Linked DNA regions of Homo sapiens: all the other regions are linked to region 3. The links are contacts of gene promoters, found by promoter capture Hi-C in human tissues and cell types (Jung and others, 2019). All regions are on one chromosome and are shown on one strand. Each heading gives the region's core, a stretch centred on a gene start or on the middle of the fragment in contact. The rest is flanking DNA. Distances are from core to core; before and after follow the strand shown. Region 1 has its middle 350 kb from the start of LINC01029. Region 2 has its middle 330 kb from the start of LINC01029. Region 3 holds the start of MBP (myelin basic protein).

What was found. Contacts are between HindIII fragments. The study calls those that stand out against the background at their distance.
Region 1: a fragment that was not itself captured here is called in contact with the fragment with the promoter of MBP in region 3 in 2 of the 25 tissues and cell types used here (dorsolateral prefrontal cortex and spleen).
Region 2: a fragment that was not itself captured here is called in contact with the fragment with the promoter of MBP in region 3 in 1 of the 25 tissues and cell types used here (dorsolateral prefrontal cortex).

Annotation. Positions count from the first base shown.
Region 1 is chr18:77,644,247-77,646,946 of GRCh38, reverse strand. No RefSeq gene overlaps it. Among named protein-coding and RNA genes, the nearest start is that of LINC01029, 350 kb to the left of the region's middle. The HindIII fragment of the contact is 6,200 bases long and covers 1-2,700 here.
Region 2 is chr18:77,664,808-77,667,507 of GRCh38, reverse strand. No RefSeq gene overlaps it. Among named protein-coding and RNA genes, the nearest start is that of LINC01029, 330 kb to the left of the region's middle. The HindIII fragment of the contact is 5,019 bases long and covers 1-2,700 here.
Region 3 is chr18:77,131,527-77,134,226 of GRCh38, reverse strand. MBP (myelin basic protein) reads left to right here and starts at 1,444. Exons shown (of 9, transcript NM_001025101.2): 1 at 1,444-1,647. RefSeq lists a silencer at 1,180-2,479. The HindIII fragment of the contact is 18,599 bases long and covers 1-2,700 here.

The DNA of each region.
Region 1 (2,700 bases), core at 179-2,678, 510 kb before region 3:
CTGACACAGTGACTGGACTGAGGCTCACCTGGGACACTCCTGGTCCTTCAGCCATAATACTCTTAGGAACTCTGATTCTCAAAGTAAAGTAGAAATATACAATGTACAAAGGAATTATTTTTAATGAGTGGGATTTCCCTTCTGGGGAGATGGGATATGCATCCTTTTCCCTCTTCCTCCCACTGAGCATAATGAATAATCTTGAACATTATGAGTAGAACAAGCATTAGACAGCTCAGAAGGCAGACTGGCTGGGGCCTCAGGATGCAAGAATGGCACAGAGGTGAGTTCTTGGACTCACCTCAGGGCAGAGGACTCCAGCAATATAGAAATGCTAACAGGCACAAAGAAAGCCCTGGCAGAAGAAAGGAGCAGCCTACCCAGACAGAAAACTTAGACAGTACCCACTCGACTCCAGCCACAACACATGCAAAACACTGCTGCCCTTCCCCATCCACACAAGCCAGATGGGGCCCCAGACTCTCACCCCCACCTGGCAGTAACAAGCCATCAGTCACTTCTAAGCCAGAGCAGTATCAAAGGAACCAGCTGCAACAGAAGGTTCCAGTGAGATAAGTAAGACCCAGAGTCTTCTGACATAGTACGAAATGTGCACCTCTTTCAATAGAAAATCCCTGTCATGCCAAGAAGCAGCAAGATCACAAAGTGGATGAAACAAGGCAAGCCATAGATGCCAACATCCAGCATAGAGGTGCTATCATAGAGTGACCTCACAGGGACTTAAAGCAGCCACAGTAAAGATACTTCAAGGGCAATGGCAAACATAATTGAAACAAATGAAAAAACACAAAGCCTCAGCAAAGAAATTGAAATCCTCAAGAAAGAAATAGAAAATACAAGGAAGTAAACAAATTTTGGACTGAAAAATCAAATAATAAAACAAGTTTGGATATTTGCAAGGACAATGATGACAGTCATGAATTAAGGATTGATGAGTATGATGGATTCTGTGCTACTGAAGCCCCCCAAAAGAAATAAATATATATGCCCACCCATCTTTGAATTCCATAAAAGGAAATTTCTAGAAAAGTATTTTTGAAATCTCTACATTTGGAAAGTTATTTCAAATTCTCCTCCCAATAAAAGATGTGTTATTTAGTGGAATAGCAGCAAGTTTTCAGGATGATGTTAATGTTCCCTTTCATTTTGTACACGTGCCAAAATGCATCAGTACGTAATCATCAGCCTTCCAAACTGTGTTCACACATTTCCCGTGCTAATATTTCACCCACATAACTTCATTTCCCTGCCTTTGATTCTTGCAATAACACATCTAGCACTTGTGAGCATGCACCGTCAGGCTGAAAAAGAGGCTTGTATCCTGTTAGGCATTACTGAATATTGGAATAGCCTCCTAATGCCTTTCCGCCCTTCCGAAAAAATCCACTCCTATTTATCCAGCACTGGTTTGGACATGAAATGTCCTCAATTAAATATTATTAACGTCTCAGTTCCTAAATAATGAATTTACATTTTCTGGTACTCTTTTGCCTTTAAAGCCCCTTTGACAGGCATTGTCTCGTGTTTTGGCCACAGACACTATGGGGTGGGGAAGATGAGTGTTATCACACATGCTAGCAGGTGAAAAGATTGAGGCTAAGATTTCATATCTGCCATTGTTTAGCTACATCACTAACCAATGTCAGATCCAGCCCAGAAAGTTATTGTTTTGAGTTTGGGGCAATGCTTTTTTCCAAATTTTTATACTTCCTTCTTATTCTTTATCTAAGCAAGCAAGAGCCCACCTTCTGCCCCTGACTAGACCCGGCTATGTGGCACGATTCCAGTGGGATTCACTTTCTGCCCCATCCACGGGTCTTGGCCTTTCTCACCTCCACCCATGTACTCAGGCCTTGTCATCTGCCTGGGATGCTTCCTGCCTTCTCTTTGTCTCTTTAAATCCTGCTCTGCAAAACATAGTTCAAATGCTCTTTCCTTCAGAAAGCCTTTCAGAGCTACTCTTATGAGCTACTAAGGCAATTAATTTTAAAGGAATTCACTCACCAATAAGCTTAAAAACAGATGTTGAGGTGTTTTGATATTTCACTCATCAGGTATTTATAGCTTGCTTCCCAGAATCAATTATAAGCTTTTTTTCAGTGGAAATATTCTTGAATTTTCCTTGAATTCTCACAGTGACCATAATATATAATAAAATAACATAGATGTGAACATAATATATAATAAAAGAACAAAATACCAGTGAGAATTTTATTTCCATGTCAAATAAAATCAACAAAGATTCTATTTGACATGGAAATAAAATTCTCACTGATAATACAATGTTCTAATAAAATGCTATAGAGCTTTATTTTAAGAATTCTCTTCTAAAACTTTCTGAGAATAGATGATGACTTGATGCATTTATCTAGAAGACGAAACACAGGTATTTCTTTTGAACAATGTAATAATTTAAAATGTAGGTTTAAGCTGACGTTTGTACCCAAAATGCCACTGTTAGAAATTGAGCCGTGGGTAATCTTACACAAGGTTGTTGCAGGAAGTTTCCAGCAGATGACTGTGAACAAATTGAGAGATGAGACAAAATGAAGTTCCGTGAGTCCAAAATATTACCTGAATGACAGGTCAAGGCTATAGCAGTAGGATGAGCCTAGCATGAGAGTAAAGCAGAATCCCAAGTAAAGCTCTGACCCAGGTCCAACCTTCCGGCCATCACAG
Region 2 (2,700 bases), core at 18-2,517, 530 kb before region 3:
TGATCCAAGCCCAGCATCTGCAAGAACAAGTTATTGACAGAGAGAAATCAGAATCAGGGTGCAGGAAACCCCAAACAGTGGCTCCCTCCCAGCTCAGCAGGTCCCAAGCAGCCTACACCTTGAAAATGCACACAGGGCCAGGCGCAGTGGCTCACGCTTGTAATCCCAGCATTTTGGGAGGCCAAGGCAGGTAGATCACTTGAGGCTAGGAGTTCAAGCCCAGCCTGGTCAACATGGCAAAACCCCCTCTCTACTAAAAATACACACACACACAAACACACACATACACACACATACACATACAAATAGCTGGATGTGTTGGGACACACCTATAGTCCCTAGCTACTCAGGAGGCTGAGGCAGGAGAACTGCTTGCACCCGGGAGGCAGAGGCTGCAGTGAGCCGAGATCACCCCACTGCACTCCAGCCTGGGCAGCAGAGTGAGACTCTGTCTCACAAAAAAGGAGAAGAGAAGAAGAGGAGAGGGGAGGGGAGGGGAGGGGAGGGGGACAATTCACAGAAGAAAAGCTGATAAACACATGAAATGGCGCACAATATGATTCTTAACTAGGTCCACATTAAATAATTGAGATTCATTGTTTGACAATGGTGGCAAACTTTTTAAAAAGATGACTAACGGACAGCAATGGCAACAGTGGGAGGCAATCAATCATTTTGGCCTATTGGGAGGACTATGTATCATGATGAAAATATTTGGAGAGTAGTTAGAATTGTTTCTATATTCATTAGCATAGGCACTCTACTATAAAAAATAATTTCCCAAATCTCAGTGGCTAAATCCAACACAGTTTCCATTTCTAACTTTTATCCAGTCCAACAGAGCTGATGGCGAGGGGCAAAAGAGGACTCCACCCAGTCATTCAGGGCCCCAGGCTCCTTTCCTCAGTGACTCCATCGTGCACGAGGTAGCCCCAGCATTCTCCACTGGATCCTCTGCACCCAGCGAGAAAGAGAGATGTGCATTGGACCTGATGCTGGTGACGGCATGGAACAGCTTCCTCACAGCCAGGCTGCAGGGCTAATAGCGAGATTCTGCTGAACTCTGTAAAAACCAGGAATCGTGGATCACACCGGAAAATGATGGATGGAGAACTTTGGTCTTCATTGTTGTTGTTTCTAAAATTTATTTGTATGACTTTTTCATTGATAAACTCCCCTCTGATACCATGGCTCCTACAGCAGGTATAGCAGGGAAATGAGGCTACCTGGAGGACCCACCCTTACATGAGCAGCTCGGAGGGTGACCTCTGAACCATCTCCTCATGACGGCAGCCGTTCTGGGTCCTGCTCACAGCACAGAGGTGCAAACTTCAGACCTGGGAGTCTTGCTCTGCTGGCACTGCCCTTCATGTTTACATTATACTTTCACTAATTTTTTTTTTTTTTTTGGTCCACGCACTTAATTGCTTCCTCACTAACATACCTTGGGACTGGTTATAATCCTTCTCTATGGAGATATGTTTGCTATCTGATGCTTTCTCAGGACAGAGCTGCAATTTTAGCTAAATTACCAAGCTCTTCAAAGTGATGCAATTGGGAACATTCAGACAGTTGAAAAATGGCCCAGAAAGCACGAAAGATTCATTAAAGCACCTGGTGTCTGCCTGGAGCTGTGTTACATGGAGAAAACACCAAATCCAATAGAGCAACTTCTTTCCCCAAGGAGCTCCAAGCCTAGAAAATAAGATAGACGAAACAACAATGATGGTGCAATTTCTGTCTCATCTACGCAGCCAAAACTCAGCAACGCCACAATTTAAGTTTCCCTCCACTTCATTTGCTCTGAGATGCTTGTTAGTTGCTAGTTGCACTTCCACAGGAGGCTTCAGCCCCATTCAAATGCATAGCATATTTCCTACAGAAATTCTGCCCTCGTAAGCTGGATCTCTCGTAGTACACCCCCTTCCACTGTCCTGACTTCCCCTCCGTGGCACCTCCATGACAATTGCAGAACACCCGGCGAATAACGGTGCACCTGCAGGTTCATTTTACTACCTGTGTTCTGCAGACATAGAGAAAGGCCGCATCTTTAGTTTATCTTGTAACTGAGCCATCTTTTTCTTGTGTGAAATGCAGCATTGTGCTCGCAATGTTTTTTTTCAAGTGCTAACCTTACTTCCTGTTTAATATTAACTGGTTTTCTTCTCTTGCTTAGGAAAGTTAAGCTTTTGAGTTTTTATTCTTTCCTCATCTATGGGCGTTTTCTCTATCATGCAAATGACAGTAGATAATACCCTCATGACTACAAGGTTACCACTTTGTGACCACATATTATGGTTCTGAAATTCAAACTACGCTCTTTGGTATCATCTGTTTTCTCCATTTTGTCATTGGTTCAGTAGCAGCTTTGATAGTTCTGTCTCCAAAAATTCTGGTACTCCTTGTATCTTTATGTGTCCCTTTCTCTACTCAGTGGGATGTGTTGGAGACTTTTCCTCCAGCCCCTTTCCCAGGAGCAAGCAAGCTTGCCCTTCACAAAGCTGGTGCATGCTCTAGCAAACCCTGTGTTGAACACCATGAAAACCAACGCTCAGACGCCAAGCGTTTGGTGCTTAAGAAGAACGACAGTTCTGTTGGCTCCTACAGCTCATTCCTCCTTTCACTTTGTTGAGATAAATTTCCTATTTATGACCGTTCCCCTTTGGAAAGTAGACAGCCTGAGGTTACGTGTGTTTTTTA
Region 3 (2,700 bases), core at 195-2,694:
AAGAGATATTTTGGGGAGGAAAAGCTGTTTCTGATGCTAAAGCAGGTATCTAAAATGGGACCCATTTTAGTGTTCCAGCTTCCCCAGCCTGAGCTTTGAGTGACTTGAGCTGGGACCTGGGTGCACCCGGGTTCATTGTCACCACCCGTGCTCCTAGGGCAGCTGTCCAGCCTCCCACGCCCACTCCGCTCATCCTTGACTTAAAGTGAGGTTGTGGGGCAGAAAAATTGGAGAAACACACTATCTTTGGCACCCTTTTCCCTCCTCACCTTCAGCCTCAAAGTCTCAGAACCCTCCTGCCCCCTCCACTTGAAAATCTCTCCTGAGGAAACGACCAGACTGAATGCTTTTGCGTCGTTGTGGAAGTATTTCTCTTCCAGTTGCCAGCATTTGAAGACAGTTGCTAAATCCTCCGGGGCTTTGGGGGAGGCTGGTTTTAGGCCGAAACCCCGACCCCGTGCTGAAGTCTGAGTCCCGCCTCCCAGCGCGGGCCGGGACAGCGCTCACCCCTCTCCCTCACTTCCTAACAAACTGTGTGGGTCCCAGGCTGCTCCAGGTCCCCTGGAAGCTCCAGATCCAGATCCCTGACTGGGGGTGTAGGTCAGGAGGAACGCGGGGCCTCATTCTGGGACTCCCCCAACCTCCTCCTCTTCCACCATCAGGAGGCTGAGAATCCAGAGAAAGATCTCTGACCACTAAATCTGTGTGCAGGTGAGTCACGGCTAAACAGCAGGCTTTTTCTTTTTAACAAGACAGCGACGAAGACCACGATGTCTCTGGGCTGCAGGACCAGGCTGCTTCCTCGCACCTGCGCGTGTTTTGCTGTCTTTTCCGCGCACGCTTCCTGCGCCGGTCCTGCAGGAGAAGGTGCGCCCCTAGCTCCCAGCTCCCAGCTCCCAGCTCCCAGAGGAGCACCTGCCAGCCGGACATGGGCCTGGCCTGGGCTCCAGGGGAGGGAGGGAGTGCCTTGGGAGGACCTGCCGGCTCCTTTCGCCTCCAGGCCGGGCTGACTCTCCTCCTGCAGGGCCGGGGCTGCGCCAAGTCTATCGGCAGTTTCTGGGGTTTCCAGCCCCTGAGGACGCGGGGAGATGCGGCCTGGCACCCCTCCCGCGAGGTCGAGGTCGGGGTCGGGGTGGGTTCGGAGGCCAAGCCTCCGAACGGGAAGGGTCGACGGGCCGCAGTTCGGAGCCCAGTTCGGCAGCGGGCGAGGCTCCAGGCCGCCCCTCCGAGGTCTGACCCTGCGCGTGGGCCCCGTGCGCCCCCCAAGTTCCGCGTGGGCAGAGCGGGCCCGGGGTCCTCCGAGCTCCCGGGGCGGCGCCGGCGGCCGCGTCCAGGTGGGGCGGGCCCGGCGGGATCGGCCTGTGTTTACCTGGCTCGCAGGAAGCCCGGGGAGGCGGGGCCGGGGAGCTGGGTGCGCGCCCGTCCCTCGGAGCCGCCGCCGTCAGTCACCGCCGCCGCGCGCCAGAGAGAAGCAGCCTCCGGCCCCGGCGGCCCCTGTCTCCCGACCCCGGAAGGCGAAGCAGGCTGCCCGGGGACCCCGCGCGTGGGCGCTTGAAGCCGAGACCAGCCTGCCCGGGCCTGGGCAGGCGGAGCAGGGCCTTGGACCCCGCGGCGCCCCTCGGCCTCGGAGCAACGAGCGCAGCGCCGGTGGGTGACCCTCGGGGACGGGCGGGCTGCTCTGCCGCCTTTGTCTCTGTGCCCCTCCGAGTGGGGACCGCGGAGACCTGGGCGGGACCCCGGACCGGAGCCCCGCGGGAGCCGGGGGCGCAAGATCGGGGACAGGAGCTATCCCGACGCCCGGACTCCGGGTCCCTTTCTTGGCTGGGGACGCGCAGGGAGAACCTAGGCAGCGGAGCAGGTGGCCGAGCAGGTAGCAGCCGGCGGCCTCCCTGACCCGAACCCAAGTCGCCGCCCCCGATCCCCATTGCGCGGGGGCTGGGCGCGGGTGTAGACGCGGGTTTACAGCGCCGGGGCCCGACCCTGACAGGTGTCCAGGGGTGGACTCCAGCCAGGCCCGGCGGTCCCAGGGTCGCTGAAACCGCTCGGCCTCGGGCCGTGGGGCTGAGGGGAGGAGTCTAGGGTGGGAGGGGACGGCGGTCAAAAGCGGCCACTCTGGGCGGGTGTGGAGAGGGTGCTGGCTGCCAGGGCGGGCTGGGGGGTCCTCCCGGCTCGCGGCGCCTGCTAATCACACCCCGGGGGCCCCGCGCGCGATCGCGCTCCTGCCCCTGCCCCCGGGGCGAAGCGCAGTCTCCCTCTGAGCTCCAGGGGCGGCCAGGAGAGCCCGGGTCCGGGCTTCCGCCTTCGCAGGGCCTGTCTCGGGCTCTTCGGCCGGGCCCGTCGCTGCGCCCACCTGGGCCCACGTGCGCCGCCCGCAGCCGCCCGCCGGCCCGCCCGGGTCTTCCCGGCAGTCCCCTCCTGGGCCCCACTGCCTGTCCTGGGCCGGGTGCGTCCGTTTTCCGTGGCCCCCGAGGCCGGGGTGTGTGACCTGCGGTCATTTGCCGCCACACTAGATTTTCCGGGGTGCTGGGGGCAGCGCCTTGTGTCCTTTCGCGTCCACCTGAGCCCCCCCGTTTTGGAAGGTGGAGTGGGGCTTGGGAAAAGGTTCAAGCGTCTTTGGGGACCCCCGTGCGACTCTGGCTGGAAACAGGCGAGCTCTGGTTCCTTGTTCCGTTTTCCAATTGCAACAACGTGAGAATCAAC